2 separate regions of the Homo sapiens genome follow, and region 2 is linked to region 1. Evidence: promoter capture Hi-C in 16 types of primary human blood cells and fetal thymus (Javierre and others, 2016). All regions are on one chromosome and are shown on one strand. The core of a region is centred on a gene start or on the middle of the fragment in contact, and the rest is flanking DNA. Distances in the headings are between cores, read along the strand shown.

What was found. Contacts are between HindIII fragments. The CHiCAGO score rates a contact against its expected background, and 5 or more counts as called.
Region 2: a contact is called between a fragment that was not itself captured here and the fragment with the promoter of PNRC2 in region 1, in 1 of 17 cell types (M2 macrophages). The highest score is 5.3, in M2 macrophages.

The regions. Positions count from the first base shown.
Region 1 is chr1:23,957,743-23,962,845 of GRCh38, reverse strand. It overlaps PNRC2 (proline rich nuclear receptor coactivator 2), which reads right to left and starts at 3,018. Exons shown (of 3, transcript NM_017761.4): 1 at 2,848-3,018; 2 at 1,712-1,917; 3 at 1-1,406. The coding sequence starts at 1,388. The coding sequence ends at 969. It overlaps LOC124903877 (a long non-coding RNA gene), which reads left to right and starts at 4,732. Exons shown (of 4, transcript XR_007065541.1): 1 at 4,732-4,744. RefSeq lists enhancers at 2,752-3,021, 3,922-3,981, 4,160-4,788 and silencers at 3,222-3,331, 3,742-3,841. The HindIII fragment of the contact is 4,127 bases long and covers 1,475-5,103 here.
Region 2 is chr1:24,397,157-24,402,259 of GRCh38, reverse strand. It overlaps STPG1 (sperm tail PG-rich repeat containing 1), which reads left to right. Exons shown (of 9, transcript NM_001199013.2): 2 at 804-941. The coding sequence starts at 872. Among named protein-coding and RNA genes, the nearest start is that of STPG1, 14 kb to the left of the region's middle. The HindIII fragment of the contact is 1,714 bases long and covers 2,284-3,997 here.

The DNA.
Region 1 (5,103 bases), core at 1,769-4,268:
GTATAACATACATACACTGGCACTTTAGCACAAGGGCAAACTTTAAAAACAAGTTATTTTGGACCTTTAAAATTAGGCCATATTATAAAAAACAGTCCACGGTCTTACATTCAGCAAATTCATACTAAAATACTCCATTTTTGTAAGATAAAGGCCAAGAAAACTTTACATATGCTACAAGTTTATTACAGATATTTACATGGCTCTTTCTCCCCTAGGTACTTAAAATTTTCACATTATCCAACTCCCCAAAGCAAGCTTTGCAGGAATGATGAGGCCAGAGCACTATTAGAATAGCTTGTGCAGTGCTGTAATACAAAAATGTATTTTGAAAGCTATTGAGTGACCATTAAATACTGTTTCTATAAAAAATGGTTTTGGTGTATTTGTTGACAGACACTTAATCCACTACATTTAATAAACAGGGCCATTGGGGTGTACTATGTCTCATTCTAATGAGCTCCAAATGCCCTTTCCACCCACTGTACAATTCACTAAAATGCAATTATTACGAAAAATTCACATTTTCTTTCAGCAGTGCATCAGGTTAGCATATTACTGGTTTGGGTGTTTCTAATATACTAAACCTTCAGATGTTTACCTAATTCTGAATCCTTGTGTTAGCTAGAAGCTTATAATCCGATTCACCAACTTTCAACAATCTACTGGTCCATGAATGATAAATTACTGTCTTCCCCTAACAATAGAAAAAGCTGATTCCTTTACCACTCCCCAAATCTAAACTTGGTTTCCACTTAAAAGTTACTCAGTTGAGAACACTTAATATCAAGTACAATCATTAGTTTAAGTTGCACTGATACTACCATTATATCACAGTGCACACAACACGAGATGGTCTATTTTTTTTACATTAATTAGTTCTACACAAATAGATTCCCTAGCGAATTTGTTTCAGACCAATTGACAACTATCCGTGAACATAACTAAATTTAAACATTTGTCTTATTTTATACCTGTACTTTAAGTAAGGTTTTAAGTTGAAATGTCATTATTTCCTTATCTGAAGGATTAAAGGAAACAGGGACCCAGTGGCTTGGTGGTTTGGGAAGAACACTTGGTGATGGCGGCTCACTAAATTTGGCACCAGCATAGTTCTGATTAGCTTGAGATTTAAAAAGTAACCTGGGACCTGATAAGCTAGAATTCCAACTTTGATTATTTGGAAAATTTTTGTTCTTCCCCCCATTTTGCATGGCCTGCCAGGCAGCTGCTGATGAGTTATAACCATGTCCTCTTTCTTTTTTCTTATGAACAATCTTCATCTGGGAATTCTGTTCCTTGGTCTTCTGTCTGTTAAGCTGTTGTTGGTTCTTACTAACATTTCTAGATTGAGGGGCTGGAATGTTATACCTCTCTCCACCACCCATCTTCAGCTTCTTTGTCACCTACAAGTGAATGGAAACAAATATTGAGTAAAATTCCATTAAGAAAAGTTCAAAATCTTTAAGAAGCTTCTATGGCTCCAACTTATAACTCCAGATATTTTGGACAAGACTCAATAACAGGCTATTCAGCTGCTTTAAACTCAAAAAAGCAAGCCGTTCAGACTTCAATATATGCACAACCTTTATTGTTATACCTTCCCTAAGAAAAATGAGCTTACCCACAAATCTACATAATCTATTTTAAAATAAAAACAATTGGTTTAGGATGGTTCCATCATAAAATGTTTGCCCATTATGATGATTACCTTTCAGTCTGCTTTTCAGATTGCAGGATCTCCACTACCTGTCCTCTTCCTTGCTGCCAAGCCCAAGATAACAAGTGTTGCTTTCTGACAGATCCCTTCCTTTGTCTCAATACAGAAGTTTTCATGGGCCGATCTGCTGAGTTCAGCCTAGGAGCTGAGGCCAACATCTGAGTCTCCTCAGCACACAAGTTTGAGAGAAGTCCTAGCTAGAAAAGTAAAGATTACTTCATTATTTCAAAAACACGTTGAGAAAGTGATCATTTAGATTTACTACGAAAATCGTTGACTGTAAAGAAGGCTACTTCCTGAACTAAAAGGTAGAAAATTTCTCGTAAGATGGCTTTCTTTGACCTTATAACCACGACCATTTAAAAAAACTCTTCACCCTTGAGATCCAGTCACTCCTGGGGAATTTTTGTAAGTGTCTCCAAGTCCCGCAATAAGTTTTATCTTTATCTTTTTCCTGGGAAAGACCTTCAGATTCTCTCGCGTATAAAATCAAGGAAGTGTTAAATGTTGAGTCATATCAAAAAATTGGCTTCAGGCGGATTTTCTAAAGAGACCGTGTTTTTAAACTCCCACCAGAATTTTCCAATCTTTCCACACATGTCACATCCATTTTCAGTCTCTTGGAACATGTAGACATCACGCAGTGTTTCCTTTGGTTATGAACGCTCTCGCCTCCTCCCCGTCTTAAAATAAGTTCTCACAAGCCCTAACAGTCTAAGCCCATCTTAAATATATAAAAATGTCTCCCTAGAGGGAACAGCTTAACTTTCAAGGTTTGGTTTTAATTTGATGTTCCAAGAAAATAAGTTACCAAATAGTTAAGCCCCCTCCTTTCAAAGGGGTAAGAGAGCTTTCCAAACAGATAAACAACCCTAAATAAATTGCCATTTCCGGACTGTGAGTAATTCCCAACTCGAACCCGGAAAACGCCTCCTCCGACGCCACAAGGGCTTGGCTTCCCAGTGGCCCCATCTCTCCGGAGCCGCAGGGGTCGCGGCGCTGCGACCGCCCGTGACCGCCCGCGCCCGCCCGGGTTACCCGGATCTCGCCTCCGCTCGCCTCCTTCCTCCAACAATGGGGAGCGCGGCCACCAACATGGCCGCGCCCTTAGCGCAGCCGCTACTTACTGACTTCAAGCTCGGAACTAACGCGGCAGCGGCTCCCTCTCGACGTCGAAGCCTCCCTCCCTTTCCAGGGAGAGACGAGGCACGGACCGACAAAGCCCACGAACACCGATGAGCGAGCTGCCGGCCACCCCAGCTTCTACAACCCGACCTTCTCCTTCTGCCTCTACCGACAAAATGGAGTCGGCAGCGACTGCAGAAGCAGGGCCGGGAGGCTCCGCGGCCAATCAAAACACGACAGCGCGGGCCTGGCCAATGAGAAGCGGGCCGCCGCCTGTTGCTGGGGCTGGCCGGGGGCGAAGGCGCGGAGGTGGGGCTGCAGAGGGTTTGAAATCTGCCCGGGGAGGAGGAGCATGCCGGGAGTAACTGCTCGGTCCACCGGTGTCTTAGTCCTTTCTCCGGCGGCCTCTCCGCGCCCCTGGCCCGCCGAGGCCCCGGCCGCTAGCTCTCGGCTCTTCCTACCGCTCGGCTCTCGTGCGCGCGGGCTCGCCGCCCTTGGGACTGCCCTGGGGGAAAAGACTGACCGGCGGGGGACGTTTGGTTCTCGAATTAGGGCCACTGAGTCCTGTAGCCTGTATTGACAGATGGAAGATACTCCGGAAAGCCTCTTGCCAGGGCGCAGCCCCCTCCCGCCTCGGGCCTCGGCTTCTGGGTCGCCTCTCTCCCACACCCACAACTCCGCGTCCGAAGCCGGCGCCTCCCCGCGGTTCCCTCCAGTGCCCCCACCCTCCAGCCCCGCAATTACTCAAAAGTTGCCTCCCTGTGAAGGCGGTTCAGACACACGCGGGCAAGTCAGTCACTTCCTGCTTGGTGGCCCCATTGGTCCTTAAGTTCAATTAGAGCCCTTTACGCGCCGTGTTACCGTTTCCTGTGGCTGCAGCTCTCCCCACCCACACACCCTCGAGGGCCACAACCGGTTAGGTTTTGTTTCTCTGAGCACAGCGCCTTCGCGCGTTGTAAGTGCACAGTAAGTTTGCTGAAAGAATGAGGACTGCTCTCCTCCCCTTTCTGCCCCACTTGTAAGTGAAAAAGGGGAAGAAAGAGAATATTGTTCAGTTGATTATGCCAGCCAGATGCAGGTAAGGGGAAAATGGCAATTTCTTTGGAGTAAATGTATAAGTAACCCAATGTGAATCTTTTAAAAGAGCACTAATTTCAATGAGCGTGAATAATTCTGGGCCAAACGGTACAAAATCAGTCTCATTCACAGTTTGTTCGTGTATACACATATATACCCAAGTTTACGTTACAGAATTTATATTTACCAACTTTTTATAAATCTCATGTAATTCGTTATTTTTGAGACGGAGTCTCCTTCTGTCGCCCAGGCTGGAGTGCAGTGGCACAATCTCGGCTCACTGCAACCTCCGCCTCCTGGGCTCAAGCGATTCTCCTGCCTCAGCCTCCTGAGTAGTTGGGATTACAGGCGCCTGCCACCACACCCTCCTAATTTTTGTATTTTTAGTAGAGACAGGATTTCATCATGTTGGCCAGGCTGGTCTCAAACTCCTAACCTCACGTGATCCGCCCGTCTCAGCCACTCAAAGTGCTGGGATTACAGGCGTGAGCCACCACACCCGGCCTGTATTTCGTTTTTTAATCTTCAATTTTTTGCCACCGTTATCCCCCACTTCCCAATCCAACCCAAATTCCTATATTCTAGCCATTGGATCTTAAGAAAAGTTACTGCATCTTACGGGATGCAGTTTGTTAATCTAATTTGATAAAAGAGGTATTTTTGAGCATAGGGACTTTCTGATGCTAATCATATTCAAATAAGAAGTATGTGGTAAACCAACAGGTGTCTTAGTGAAAGTGTAATCTGTTTTCCAAACATTCAAGAAGTTTGCTTAGACGTCTAGCCAGATAATAGCCAGCTGTATTTAATGAATTTTTAATGGTGTCACTTTAAAAAACAAAAAACAAACAAAAAAACACTTCCGTGGCTCCAAATTGTGATACGGAATAAAATCTAAACTCTAAACGTTTAGAAAATTATTCAAAGCCATTGCAGTCTAGAGTTAGTCTTTTCATGGCAGGGCATGGCTCACACCTGTAATCTCAGCAATTTGGGAGGCCGAGGCAGGAGGATCACTTGAGCGCGGGAGTTTGAGACCAGCCTGGGCAACATGGCAAAACCCCATCTCTACAAATAACAATTAGCTGGGCATGGTGGCACACGCCTGTAGTCCCAGCTACCTGAGAGACTAAGGTGGGAGAATCACCCGAGCCCAGGAAGTAGAGGCTGCAGTGAGCTGC
Region 2 (5,103 bases), core at 1,891-4,390, 440 kb before region 1:
ATTACACTAAGTGAAAAAAGAGTGTCTATGATTGCATTTCTGTGACATTCTAGAAAGGCAACAATTGTGACAGCAGAGCAGTGGTTGGGAGGGTGCTGACTGCAAAGGGACACAGGGAGCTTCTCAGCATCATAGATAAATTAATATCTTAATTGTGGTGGTATTTAACTTGGCTGTAAACATTTGCCAAAACTTGGAATTGTACAACTAACACTGATGAATTTTATTTGTGTATACATTATGTCTCAGTAAAGCTAAATTTAAATAAAAATAGGCCAGGCATGGTGGCTCACACCTGTAATCCTAGCACTTTGGATGGCAGAGGCAGGCAGATTACCTGAGGTCAGGAGTTCGAGACCAGCCTGGCCAACATAGTGAAACCCCATCTCTGCTAAAAATACAAATTACAGATGGTGGGCGCCTGTAATCCCAGCTACTGAGGAGGCTAAGGCAGGAGAATCACTTGAACCCAGGCAGGGGCAGCGGTTGCAGTGAGCCAAGATCACACCATTACACTCCGGCCTGGGTGACAAGAGCAAAACTCCGTATCAAAAAATAAAAAATAAAAATAAAATCCAAGCCTTCAGTAGTTCTGTAAGCAACATCAACAGTGACTTCTTACGCAGTTCCTACTGCAGGCAGCACCAGCACAATGTGCTTGGGACTTTGGGTCACTGCACTTGGTAGATCTCAGCCGGCACCCACACCATTTCTCAGTTTACCCTGTAGATAGAACAGAACCCATTTGCAATAATTAACCAATGTGAAATGATCTCTACAAATGCTGTGTTTTGCTGTTTCAGGTGCTTAGGAGAACATGCAGTAGAACTTTTCATCAAACAAATGGAACACGTCACAGAATTTTGCTAACATGGACAACTCTGCACAGAAAAATGAACGCACTGGCAAACATCCCAGACGTGCCAGTGAAGTACAGAAAGGTACATGTGTCTTTGCAGGGAGGAGATAGCTCCTGACATATGCTTATTTTAGTACATAAGAGCAAATTTGGGGGGAATAGTAAGTCCTGGGTTATATCCACAGGGCCATCCTTACAGGCATACCAAATAGGTGGCTTTAGGCCCTACTGTTTCAAGTGTGACGATTGGGAAGAAACTGAGAAGAAAGGATGAGAGAAGAAGGAGGAAGTCTGTTAAAAAATAAAAAACTAATAAACAAAACCCAGACTTGTTAGTTCCATGTATCTGGTAAGAATCTCTATCCTCAAATTTAGATATGTAAGAGATCTTTTTTTATTTCCTAGAACTCAACTTGAGTTATGACTGCAAGTCCCCATTCTGCTGGGTTGTTGGAAAGGATAACTCCAGCCATTATCAGCATAAATCCTATCTCCCTCGTGATTGTTTCAAGTTCAGAACTTTCCCAATAGTTAGTGTGATCCCAGGAGGCTGGGTTGGGGTGGGGAGGAATACTCAGGTCATTGGTCAACCATCCACATTGGTGAGATCCCCAGTGTCCCAGCTCATGTGCTCCCTTTGGTTTTGCTAGTGTTCGCCAACTAGTGTTCTGGTTCGTTAGTGTGGCTTAGGAATTATTGCTGAGACAGGAAACCTCATTTTGAGATCCCCCTAGGCTCCAGCGCTTTTTCTTTCGAGGCTGTTACCACCTCCCTGGTGGGCTTCCAGAGTCGCTGCTGCTCTCAAATCCAGAGAGATCTCTCTTTCTTCCTCCTATCCTCTGATTTTGCACTCTCTTTTTCTTTAACATTTCTTTAAATTGAAGCATAAATATATATTCAGAAAAAGTGCACAAATCCTAATTGTATAGCTTAATGAATATTCACAAAGAAAACACCACCTATGGAATAACTTCTCAGACCAAGACAGAATGTCAGCAGCATCTCAAAAGCCCTTGTCCCTTCTCAGATATTATCTCCCTTCCCTGCAAAAGTAAACACTACGGTTATCCTGACTTCTCATATCATTAATAACTTTAGTTTGTTTTTGAATGTTATGTAAATGTGAATCATACAATATGAGCTCTTTTCTCTCAGGCTTATGTTTCAGAGATTTAACTTCATGTTGGTTTGTCTTATCTATGAGTAATTTGTTCATTTTATTACTCTTGTTTGAATACACCACAATTTATTTATCTATTCTACTACTGAAGGACATTTAGGTTGTTTCCAGTTTGGGGCTATTATGAATAAAAACTTCTGTAACTATTCTTGTACTTGTCTTGTGGGACACATATTTATGTATTTCATGGGTCTATACCTGAGGAGTGGAACTGCTGGGTCATAGGGTATGTTTAGGGTAAGCTTAGTTGATATTGCCAAACAGTTTTCCAAAGTAGCTGTGCCAATTTTACCTCCTTACAAGCAATGTATGTGAATTCCAGCTGCTCCAAATCCTCACCAACATTTTAAGCTCATAATAGTTTTAATTTGCATTGCCTGAGATCAATGAGATTGAGCACTTTTTCATGTTGACTGGCCTTTTGGATATTCTCTTTGGAGAAGTGACTGTTCAACTTTTTTGCCCATTTTCTTCTGCTGGGTCTTGTCTTGTCTTTTCTTTTTTTTATTTATAGGAGTTCTTTAAACCATTCTGTCCTTTTCTTATTTATAGGGATTCTTTATTCTAGAAACAAGTCATTTGTTAGCTGTAGGTAAATGTCATCCCTTATCCTGGGACTTTCCTTTTCACTCTCTTAACAATGTGCTAAGACACAGAAACTCTTGATTTTAATATAGCCCAATTTATCAGTCTCTTTATGTTTAGTGTACATGTCTATTTTATTAATACTTAAGAAATCTTTGCCCATCCCAAGATAGTTTCTTCTAGAAACTCTATTATTTTACCTTTTACATCTAGATCTACAATTCACTTGAAATTGTTTTTGATTGAGGAAGATGCCCGAGTCTGTTGTTTTCCATGTTGACCCAGCACCATTTATTGAAAGGCTGCTCATTCTCTACTACTCTGTATTGCTGTTGCTACCTTTGTCATAAATCAAGTGTCCAGGCATATGCAGCTCTGCTTCTTGATTATTTATTCTGTTCAAATATCATACTGTCCTAATTACTGTAACTTTATAATAACTCTTTAGTAGCATAAGCCCTTCAACTTTGTACTTCTTTGTTTATGCTGGCTATTCTTGACCCCAGTGCATTTCCATATAAATTTATTTTACTTTTTTATTTTTAATTTTTATGGATACATAATAGTTGTACATATTTATGGTGCACACATGATATTTTGATACAAGAATATAATGTGCGATGATCAAATCTGGGTAGCTATACAAATTTTACAATCAGCTTATTAATGTCTTAAAAAAACTCTACTCTCATTTTAATTTGGATTGCATTGATTCTAGAAATCAATTTAAGGATAATTTACATCTTTACAATAAATATTAACTTCTCTAATCCATGTATAGATCCTTTTATTTAAGTTACCTTAAATTGTTCTCAATGTTTTGGAGTTTTCTATGTAGAAGTCTTGCATATCTTCATTATATCTATTGTAGGCATTTGATTTTTATGCTGTTATAAATGGTAATTTTAAATTTTATTTTAAATTGTTTGTTGCTGCTGTACAAAAAAATTAATTGATTTTTGTATATTGACCTTGATTCTGGTGACCTCACTAAATCCAACTATTACCTCTTATAGGGTGTCCACAGATTATTTTGCAATTTCCCCATACACAATCTTGTAATCTGTGAAAATGACAACTTTATTTCTTCCTTTCTCATCCATATATTTTATGTATTTTTAATATATTTTATGTAGGCGTTTGTATTGGCTAGAGACCTTCAGTACAACGTTGAATAGAAGGATAATAGCAGTTGTACTAGTTTCACTCCCTGTCTCAAGGGAAAGCCTTTAATATTTCACAATTTGGTATCCTGTTTGCTATAGGCTTTTGTTATAGACACCTTTTATCAGATTAACAAAGTTTGCTCCTATTCCTAGTTTGCTAGAGTTTTTCTTTTAATCATCAAAGGATATTAGATCTTATGAAAAGCTTTTTCTGTATCTACTAAACAGTTACTTCACCAAAAAAAAGATATACAGAGGGAAAATAGCATATGAAGGACTGCTTAGCATCATTAGTCATTAGGGAAATGCAAATTAAAACCATAATGAGATACCATTACATACCTAATGGGATGCCTGAGATTAAAAAGACTTCCCATTGCTGATAAGAATGTGAAGTCATAGAAATTTTCATACGCTAATAGTGGGGATGTGCAAAAGTACAACGACTATGAAAAATAGTTTGACAGTTTTTTAAAAAGTTAAACATATGATCTAGTCATTCCACTCCTAGGCATTTACCCCGCAAAATGAAAGCTTATGTCCATTTAAAGACTTGTAGATAAAATGCTCATAGCAGTTTTATTTGTAATGCCCCCAAACTGGCGACAACTCAAATTTACATCACCAGTGAATAAACATCATGTTTTTATACAATGGAATATTACTCAACAATAAAAAGCAATGGAGTATTGATATATCAGCAACAGAGATGAATCTCATAGTAATTATGCTGAGTGAAAGAAGCCAGACAAAAAGAGTACATGTTACAGGTATATGATTTTTTTAATCTGTTGAGATACTCGTATGGTTTTTCTTTTTTAGTCCGTTAATATGATGAATTATATTGATTTTTAAATATTAAACTATTTTTGCATTACTGGGGTTGGTCACGATGTATTATCTTTTTATATATTGTCTGGTTTGATTCGCTAAAATTTTTCTAAGGATTTATGTATTTATGTTTATGAGGGCTGCTGACCTCTAGTGATCTTTTTCCCTCTTGTAATGATGCCATATAGTTTTGGTATCAGGTAGTGGTTGCCTCATTGAATGAGTTTGGAAATGTCTTTTCCTCTTCAGTTTTCTGGGACAGCTTGTATGGAATTGATAGGTGGAGTGTTCTATAAATGCCAATTAGGTCAGGTTAGGTAATAGTTTTGTTCAGGTTTCATATATCTTTACTGATCTATCTACTTGTTTAAATTATCGAGGGAGATGTTTTGAGATCTCTGACTATAATTGTGAAATTTTCTATTTTTTCTCGCAGTTTTATCAGTTTCTGCTTCTTATATTTTCAATCTCTTTTTATTGGG